Linked DNA regions of Homo sapiens: region 1 is linked to region 2. The links are contacts of gene promoters, found by promoter capture Hi-C in human tissues and cell types (Jung and others, 2019). All regions are on one chromosome and are shown on one strand. The core of a region is centred on a gene start or on the middle of the fragment in contact, and the rest is flanking DNA. Distances in the headings are between cores, read along the strand shown. Region 1 holds the start of EPAS1 (endothelial PAS domain protein 1). Region 2 holds the start of PRKCE (protein kinase C epsilon).

The links. Contacts are between HindIII fragments. The study calls those that stand out against the background at their distance.
Region 1: the fragment with the promoter of EPAS1 here is called in contact with the fragment with the promoter of PRKCE in region 2 in 1 of the 25 tissues and cell types used here (H1 embryonic stem cells).

What each region holds. Positions count from the first base shown.
Region 1 is chr2:46,295,914-46,300,869 of GRCh38, reverse strand. EPAS1 (endothelial PAS domain protein 1) reads right to left here and starts at 3,463. Exons shown (of 16, transcript NM_001430.5): 1 at 2,933-3,463. The coding sequence starts at 2,958. RefSeq lists silencers at 2,870-3,199, 3,430-4,009. The HindIII fragment of the contact is 17,489 bases long and covers 1-4,956 here.
Region 2 is chr2:45,648,928-45,653,697 of GRCh38, reverse strand. PRKCE (protein kinase C epsilon) reads right to left here and starts at 2,023. Exons shown (of 15, transcript NM_005400.3): 1 at 1,250-2,023. The coding sequence starts at 1,597. LOC102724965 (a long non-coding RNA gene) reads left to right here and starts at 2,483. Exons shown (of 2, transcript XR_005647119.2): 1 at 2,483-3,733; 2 at 4,315-4,770. RefSeq lists enhancers at 1,345-1,965, 2,454-2,748 and silencers at 2,124-2,593, 2,764-2,863, 3,494-3,593. The HindIII fragment of the contact is 9,634 bases long and covers 1-4,770 here.

The sequences.
Region 1 (4,956 bases), core at 2,214-4,713, 650 kb before region 2:
CAGAAGGAGGGGGAGATTGGAGATCCAGGTGTCTCCAATTCCCCTTCCACGCTAGCCCTGTACTGAGCACTACTGTATAAGCACTCTGGGAAGGTGTCTGGACCTAGGTCTGGCTTTGGGACTGGACTTTGATCCCTGATTATCCAAGGATCTCATTTACATTTGCCTGAACCACTCCTCAAACCCCGTGAATCCCAGAATTTCCACATTTTTTTCCCAGTGAAAGGACTCAGGCATTCCTGATAGATGCGTGCACAAAAAGGTGAGTGAAAGTGCAGTACCCCCACCCACCAGGCTTCAGTTTCTGACATCTGTGATGTCACCGCAAATGCCCACTACCACCAAAACTGGTACTATCAAGGACACCCAGCCAACTAACATTTAGAAAGCAAACTCTTTATTATTAAACATTAACATATTTATCGACGTGTGAACATTCTGGGACAAAATCATCTGCCCACTTCTTGACGGGCCATTGTTAGAACGAATATTCCAAATGTTCTGCCCATATTGCATTTGGGGGAAGAAACTGCTCTGCTAAACCAAAGAAACACAAAATGTAAGAACTAGTGGGCAGAATCATCAGCAGAGAGCCCCCTCACTGTCACATCGCCCTTGTGAGGCACTCAGAAAAGCTACAGCAGTCACTTACATGACAACACCAACTTTCAATGTATTGGTTCACATATTTTAATTACATCTTGGTCCCTAAAGAAGCCTGCAGCCAGCAAACAGACCCAGGCACGAAAAGTAAATGAGTCTCAAACTGATTAGCCCAATAGGAATTGGACAACCCCTTAAGGGGCTCTAGATGGTGAAGGACACGCTGTTTGCCCTGCCATTCTGCAGCACAAAAATCCAGGCAGGTCGAAGAGGGCGGACACCCTCGCGTGGCCACCAGCCCGGAGCCGCAGCTCACACAGCGGCCTCCAAGGCGTTTCGCAGGCAGTCCCCACAGTGGTTCTTAAAGCGGCCGCTCTCGCCAATAATTGGGAGTCTAATTACGCAACGTTCTTCCCGCTCCCATTCCCGCTTCTTCTCTCTTTCCAACAGTCCGCTAACGAACCAGGTACTGTAGCTGGGTGTGTCGAAATCATTTTTCCCCTGCTCCCAAGTTTCTCGGTATATACGGTACAAAACTGCACAAAACCCGGCGCTAAGGAGCGCAGGAGGAGCTGACACTTCACACATTTGTCAAGATTACTGTCAGGCCCCACCTCGGCGATTGCCACATTCCCGATAGGCATCGCAGTTGTAAAATACACAAGTTCCCTCCCCGGCTCCGGACCCGAAAGCGTCTGCAGGCGCTGTCTATAACTTTGCTTTTCGATGGTTCAGTCATTATTAGCATTATGATTGGTTTTTACAAAACGCACTGGAATCTTAAGAGTCTTTTCCTTGCTCTGCTGCCTTCAAAAGACATGGAACCCCAGGACTGCTCCGAGGGCCCTGGGAATGTGCCGGCTGCAGTCTCAGGGCTCCCTCACTTGTCTTGGGTCTGAGGGCGCGACGGTGACGAGAAAGGGGGGACTACGGCCAGGAAAGGGGAGCAGGGCCCAATCCCCTCCCCTAGCGATCCCGCAGTGAAGGGCCCGGGCGCCGAGCCAGGACAGGCGCGATTCGCTCCCGTTTATCAAATCCTTATCGGTGCCCCGAGGTGGGAACCGCTGCTTTCGACCGGAGGATACACGGTTTCTGGCTCCAGTCCCGTAGTGGAAGTTGGAACAAGAGCAAATCAACCTCGGCAGTGAGCCCTCCCGGCCAGTCACCTCCCTCCCTTAGCGAGTCGGTCCTCCTCATCCTCGCACCTCTATACCGCCGCTCCGCCGCTGGTTTCCCGCGGCTCAGGCGGTTCAGCCGGCCGCGCGTTGGATTCCAGCTTCCCGCAGCATAGCCTCGCCAAGCCGCGGCCAAGCGCGGGGCTGGAAGCTCCAGGCCACTGGGGCCGCACGGGTGGAGACAGGAGGAGAAAGGGGACAGGCGGCGAGCCGCACACATTTGCAGAAGTTGAGGCCCTGCCTGCTTCTGCGCGGCCGCGCAGAGGGCTCGAACCCTCGCTCGGGTAGCGCCGGGCCCGGCTGGACTGGGAGCGGCCGGGAGAGGGCGAGAGGGCAGCAAGAAATGGCCAGAGTTGCCTCTCACCCAGTGCCGAGAGGCTCGCGAGGGCAGGCGGGCAGATCGTGGCTGCCCTTCTCTGTCCTCTTCGGAGACAGACACCCGGACCTGCCAGGGACATCCAGTGTTGCCGTCCGCTTCCTACACACCGAACCATCTGCCCCCGCAGGGCAATCCAGGTCACTCACTACCTACTCTCCCCAGAGTCAAGGTGCGGCACGAGGAAGTGGGTTCTCCAACCTTCGGTGGGGTCTGGAGCCCGGCAGCGGGGCGCTCTGAAGGGTCCTGGCTCCTCGGTAGGATCGTGTCCCTGAGCCGCTCTCCGCCTCCCGCCCCCCTTTGCCCACTTGGGCCGCGGCGCGGGCACAGGAGCGCATTTGGAAGGACTCCGCGAATCCAGAGAAAAATAGAGACGTGGATGCTGCCCCAAAATGAGAGACCAGAGAAAGTCGAGGACATGCACCCACAAACATTTCCAAGCGCCGGTGGCCACGGTAATCTGCTGCGGGGCGGCTGGGAGATTTTCAAAGGCACCGCGGAAGCACCTCCGACCTCCAGGCCATCTCCCTCGGCCTCCTGGCCTCGCCGTGCGCGCAAATCCCCGACTCCTCCGAGCCGCAGAAGTCTCCACTGCAAAGCTGCTGATCCGCGCCCCCAAACCGGGCACATGCTCTCCCCCTCACAGCCCTCCAAACCGAGCCTCGAGCTCCGAAGACCTCTCAGCACTCTTCTCCCAACCACTCTCGGTCGCGCCTGCCCCGCGCAGCCCGGCCCTGGCCTCGGACCGGCCCCCTGATCGGCCCGGACGCCCGCTTACCTTTTCTTCTCCTTGTCAGCTGTCATTGTCGCTGTGGCCCTTTGAGACGTTCAGACGCCGAGCACCTGGGCTCCCTGGCGGGTGGGGGGCTGTGGCCCTCGTCCGCTCCCCGCGGCCCGGGCGGGTGGTGAAGGTCCGAGGTGCGCGCAGGTCCCGAGCGCCCCGCGCAGTCAGGTGGAAGGTGGCGCGCGGCGGGCTAGGTGCGGGGGCGGGGGTGGAGAAAGGTGACTGGGAGGAACCTGCGCGCGGAGGCGGGGTCCGGGGAAGGAGTGGGTGGAGGCTGTCAGACCCGAAAAGAGGACGGAGAGAAGGGAACCCAAGTTCCTTTTTCCCTGGAAAAGGAGTCACTTTTCTGAGTTTTCAAAGAAAAAAAAAAGTGGCTCGAATGCTGGGAGTCGGAAGGAGTCGGAGGCCGGGCTGAGCTGACCATACAGTCTCAGGACACTGCCGAGGATTGTACGGCCGCCTCAGGAGCGCTGGGGCGGAAGCGCAGCGGGCACCGGACCCGTGTGGCGGTCCGCTCGCGAGTGTAAAGCTCCCGCGGCCGGCAGCCCACTTTAAAAACTCCGTCGGCCGGCTTGGGGCGGGCACGGGGCGGGCGCGGAGGGCGGGGGGCGGGCACCGGCGCGGGTGTGTGGGCGGGCACGCGCCGGCAGGCCCCGCCCGCGCCGAGCTCCGGGCGGCTCACTGCGTCCCGGCCAATGGGGACGCGCGGCCGCAGCCTCTGCCCTGACCCTGGCCCGCCTCCTGCCCCCGCGCTGCGCCCCGCCTCCTGCCTCCGCACTTCGAGGACTTGTTTATGAGGTCGTCTGGGCGGCGGGTAGCGGGGTGGGACTCCGCGTCGGGGAGAGGCAGCCTGCGCAGGGCCGAGGGGCGGCCGGGAGCCGGGCTCCGGGATTGCTGCGGGGGACGGCAGTTGCGCCACAGCGTCGGTGTCCTCGTACCGGCGCCGTGCCCTTGGAACGAGGGCAGGACCGCGGGCAGCGCCGGGCCAGCGCGGAGCCCCTCCACGCTGCTGCGCTCCTGCGTCCCTGGCCCTCGGGCCAGGTGGGGATAATTTCTCGGCCCCCAGCGGCTGCGTTTCGGGCGTGGGCGATGCGCCCTTTTCGGTGGGACGCAGCTGACTTGACCGTCTGGGAGAAGCAGTGCAAGGAAATTGATCTAGGGCTGCGCCTACTCTTCCTTCCCTCTCCCAGCAGGGTGGTTGCTTACCGGCTTGTGCCAGGCGGTTTGGTTTTGGCGGGGATGCGGCAGAGGAGGCCCTTTGAGCCGCCCGAGGCCGGGGCGAGTTCAGAATTGGAGAAGTCAGTCTGGTTCCCCAGTGTGATCTTGGAGTGACAAGAGTTGGCCATGTGCCCTCAAGTCACTGCATCTCAGGCCTGCCCTCTCTGCCGCCAGGGTCGATGGAAGTCCTGGGAAACCCAAAGGCTACAGGTGTTGGAAATTTGTAGATTTAAGGGCTCACACAGGCAACGGTTAGCGCTCAGGGATTTTCCAGCGGCGCTTTTGACGCTGCCTTCCATCTCCGGGCCCAGTGCTCCCCTGCCCCGCGCTGAGCTGTCTCCCACTCGCTACCGGCGATGGGGAAGGGACATCTGGGGAGAGGACAGGGGACGCCCTTAGTTTTTGAAGGCTGTGGAAGGACCCATGAGTTTCACAGGTGTAACTTGAAGTTGGAAAGCGAGGGCCAAAGAACTGGTCTATATCTCTCCCTTTAGCCTCTTGCCACATTTTATACTAGAACGATCTACAGAAGCGATTTGAAGAGAAGGGTAGGTTTCAGCGCCATAATAAAAATGAACACGTGTTTTCCCCGTGTACACAGAAAGGGTTGGGGGAGATACTTTTCAGGAGCCTGGAGAAGGCGAAGTGGGGAGAGGGCAAAAACTGACGAAGAATTGGGAAATACTTTTTTTTTTTTTTTGAGACTGAGTCCCACTCTGTCGCCCAGGCTGGAGTGCTGTGGCCCCATCTCGACTCACTGCAACCTCCGCTTCCCGCGATTCTTGTGGCTCAGCCTCCGG
Region 2 (4,770 bases), core at 774-3,273:
TCTCTCTTATTTTTCCCTAAAACTCCGTGTCCTTGAAAAAAATATGTAAGGTGATATGCCAAAGTGATCCATGTGCAACCTCTGACCTCTAGGACATTCATGAAGTTAGCTGGTTTTCAATAGAAAGCAATTGCTCTACACCACTTTTGAGGCTTAGATAGCTCTCTCACTTTTTGTGTAGACCAAAGAACCCTGAAAACATATACCTCCAGAGGAACGCTTGTACTTGCTGGAAACATGTAACAAACCTGAAAACACAAAAATCCACATCCTAAATTAATACCTTCCTTCCAAGAAGAGAGAAAAAAAAAAAAAAAAAAAAAAAAACAACCCAAAAACAAACACAAAAAGCAAAATGAAGGTTTGCTTCTCTCTGCTTGTCCAAGTGCCAAGACTGGATGCATTTGGTTTATAGTAGATTGAGACAAGACCTCTTTCCAAATCCTTAATAGTTTAATAATGGAATCAATTAACAACTCAATCTCATACTTAGAAATCGTCTTTTATTGCACAGTATCTTGACAATCAAAACAGAGAAACAATATAACTTTAAATAAGATTCAAAGCACTGACTTCCAATTACCCACAAGCAGAACCCTTCTTAAAATGCAACATTCATTCTGCATGGATGGGCAATGAATTGGACAAAACAAGCTCGACTGATGTTTCTGGGACCATAGAGGAGACATCCTGGAGGAGAACACATTTTTTCTACTTGTATGTCAGAAGATGAGCTAACCACCATGCAAGAGAATAGAAACAAGCCAGCTTCCTCTCGGAGGGAAAAATAAAGCAACTCCTCGCTCGGCTAAGCAGGACAAAGCCAGGACGTGCAAGAAGCCTTCAGTCAAAGGCTCCACGTGCCTTTCCAAGGACGGAGGGACCCACCCACACACAATCACACACAGCCAGCCCACCACGCGCCTGCGGAAGAAAGCCGGGTCCTCGGCCAACCTTCAGCACCAGTGGCCCAGGCTCTCCCAGTTTGCAAACCTCCCGCAGCACCCACCAACTGGAGGGCACAGAGGGAGCAGAGGGCCACATCCTCTTTCCAAGTCTCATCTTCCTCGCCAATGCCTGTTTCTCCCCAACTATGAAGTGAAGTGTACCTCCCCAAGGAAACTGAGACTTACAGGCACACACACCCCAGTCGTCAATAAGTCCCGGAGCCCTACGATCAAGACCAGCGAGTCTTTCCCCGGGACCCCACAACCGGGTTCCCGGAATGACGGGGAGGCGCCGCACTCACCCAGTCCTCGAAGTGGCGGCTCCCGTTCTGCAGCAGCTCCTCAAACTGGATGGTGCAGTTGGCCACGAAGTCGTCGTAGCCTATGGGGGCATCGTGAAAGACAGCCAGCTCGATCTTGCGTCCGTTGCACACATCGGTGACGAACTCGTCGTGCCAGGCCGGGCTGTTGGTCTTCTGCTTGGTGGCCGTTTGGCCGATGCGCGAGTCGTCCACATTGAGGGCAATGTAGGGGTCGAGAAGGAAAGTCTGCGGCCGGGGTCCCACCGCATGGCGCAGCGACCAGGCTGTGGGCTTCAAGCTCACGGCCTCGCAGATTTTGATCTTAAGAAGGCCATTGAACACTACCATGGTCGGGGCGGGGAGTGGGGGCCGGGGTCACTCCGTCTGCCCCGAGGGCAGGAATGAAGAACCGACGGCCCGGCACTCCGAGCCACAGGGACTCTTGGGTCCCCTTTCGCCCCACCCCGCACACTCCCTACACCTTGTGGCGTTGCGCCCTGGCGCGGGCGATTCTCAGCCAGTGCATGTATTTCCTCGCCGGGTTCCTAACGGAAAACAGGGAGGGGGGAGAGCTGGGGGATGTCCGTGTTTGGAGCAAGTCTCTCCCCCCGACCACCAGCTGCACCTCCAGAAGAGAAGACGAGCTGTCGGCTCCGCTGCAAGCCGCGGGGGCTGCCTCGCCGCCTCGCTGGCTCTCCGGCTCCGGACTGCGGGAAAGCGGGCGCCGCGCCCGGCGCTTACCTACCTTTCCGAAACATAATCCCGGGAAATTTCGACTCCGGGAGGGGGATGGGGCGGTGGGACGGGGCGGGGACGAGAACCGGGGGCGCAGATTTCAACCCGGATCCTCTTCGCACACTCAGCGCCTGCCTCTGACCGCGCGGGGCGGGGGGGTGAACGGAGGGATGTTCAGTCTATCCGGAGGGATGCATGTCGAGAGGAAATGGTCCTCCTCGGAGCCAAATTTTTAAAAATCCACAAGCCCCACGGCCAGCCGGGGCCGCCGCCTCCTGGGCGAAGCAGCGCCGCGCCGGAGCCGGCGATCGGGAGGCGCCAGGAGCCCGGAATCTCACATCCGCGCGGGCTCGGAGTCCGGGCGGCCGCCGATCCGGCTCGGGGGCGCAGGCCAGCACCGGGCGGTGCGCAGCGCGGCGGCGGGGCAGGGACTGCGACTCAGCGCGGCCCCACCTCCTGGGCGCCGGCGCCCGCCCTCCGCGCTCCCCGCGTCCCCGCTCTCGGCTGCCGCTCGCTCGCCGCCCGCCAGCCCGCGCTCCCCCGCGGTCTCCTCTCCCTCTGTCGGTGTGCGAGCGAGTCTCCCTCCCTCTAATGCAGGAAATGCGCAAAAGACGTCAGTGTGTGTGAGTGTGTGTGTGTGAGTGTGTGTGTGTGCACGCGCGCGCGCGCACGGCAGTGTTTGGGGAAATAGAAAGTTTTGCCGGTTGGGGGAGCAATACGGAAAAAGTGAGCCGAGGAGACAACGGTGGAGAGCTGGCGAGGCTGCCCGGGGTCGCAGCGGCGGGCGGGTCAGCCGGGGGGCGGGGACCCCGCGCGGGACCCCGGGGTGCGGCGGCGCTGGGCTGGATGCGCGTGCCGGGGGCCGTGGATGGCCATGGATGGGCCCCGCCGGGCCGCGTATCTCTCGGGGACCCTGCGGCCAACACTGTCTTTTAGAGCCGGGGATGGGGGAGTGGAGGGGGCCCTGTTGCCCTAGAGGCCTCGGGACCCTTCCCTTGCCCACCCCCACTCGGGCCGCGGCGGGCAGGAGCAGTCTGCGGAGTTCTGGCCCATCTGTCACTCTGTCCCGGGACGCTGTGATCCACGGCGGTGGGGGAGGGGGAAGGGGGAGGGACAAGCATGGCTCGGGTGAAGTTTTAAACTCTGTTCTTCTCTCTTGCCTTTCTTTGGGGACATTCTCCCCTTTGGGATCTGTCCTGGACTTCGCAGGCTGCGAGAACTTGTTGACAAGTGAAAGCTCGGTAGAGCCCCGGCTTGGTTTGTGGTCTGCTTATTTTTTGCAAAGTGACTGTTCCTGTTTGCGCTGGTCCTTATCGGTGCCCCTTTGGGGGACTTCGGCACTGATCAGCGCGCTGACAGCCGCCGTCCGGGCTGCGGGAAAATGGGGCGCGCCCTCCGGGGGGCGAGTGGCTGTGTCCTTGCTAATTTCCTCCGTAACCTTTAAACTCTCGCTGGAAGCTACCGCCGCGGCTGGTCACGTGAGGAGAGCCCTGGGCTGCTGGGGAAAAATTTCCTCGGCTGGGAGCCGGGACCGGGCCGGCGGCCGGCGAGGGACTGCCCCGCGCCCGAGACTGGGAACCTGGGAGGGCAGGGCCGGAGCGCTGGGCCCCGGGGCGCGGCCCAGCTGGGACACCCGCGAAGACGGCGGCGGTGAAGAGGTCGGCTCCGCTGCCGGGGAGCTGGGGATTATGCAAATGGGGAAAGAAAACCTCCGCCCTCGCCCTTCTGCCAAGTCAAGTCTGGGAATTTGTAGGTATTGTGGTAAGCTGAGTGTTCATCTGGCGGGTCTGGTTAGTGTAAACCAAAATTTAAAACGCGCCTCCCGATCACTTTTTCCTCAGTGGGTAAAGGTTATCATTGCCTGCGGCTTAAAAGCCTAAAAAGGCTTAAAGGCGAGGAAGGAGGCAGTCCCCTGGAAAAACAGGATATCAAGTGCAGCAAACACGTCCCAAAAATGATCCGAAAAGTTCTAGGGCCATCTCCTAAGAACAGGCAAAGCCTTTGCCTGCAACCGCTCTGGAGCTTCCTAATACAGTAATTTCTCGCAGCCTGCCCTGTTGAACAGGGCAGCTGGGTAGAGATGGTGCTAAGATTCAGTCTTCCGTATGATCTAGGTAGCTCCGATGTAAAAAGCCAGGATTTCAATGGTTGTCTTACCCTGTCACTCCCCCAGCTGGAGATACGATATCTTAAAATATGTCCGTTTGACAAAGCACAAGCAGGGGTATCTCATTGCTGTTTAATTTTTATTTCTTTGATTATTACTTTTTTCCCTTTTGCTTCTTCCTTCCACTCTGCTATTCTCATGAAGCCTCTTTCCCCCTTTCCAGGGCATGTGATGGAAGGCAGTGGCAAATATGGCTTGATCTTCTGAAAATGCATTTGGGAAGCAGAGCCAGCACCAAAGTGAGATGAGTGAGATACTTTTCAGAGGCAAAATGTAAAGGGTACCAATAAACGTAATCAAGATAAAGATTTAATACAATTTTTTAAAAATAAAAATGTGAGAATCCAGAATGGACACAATATCCACATTTTAAATAATTTTAAATATTGCACTAAAATATTTATACTACTGAGTTTATTGGCACCTGTTAAATTTTGTACCTGAGCCGAGTGCGTCACTCATCTCACCCTAGTCCTGATCCTGTTGGGAAGTCTGGAAAGTCAAGGATTTCATGGAGTTAGGGATCCTTGACTAATTGGTGCTTCATATGTTCTCATTACTTGCTTTGGGTAAGTCTTGTACAGGCAGGAGCCACCATGCCCAGCCCCCAAATATATTA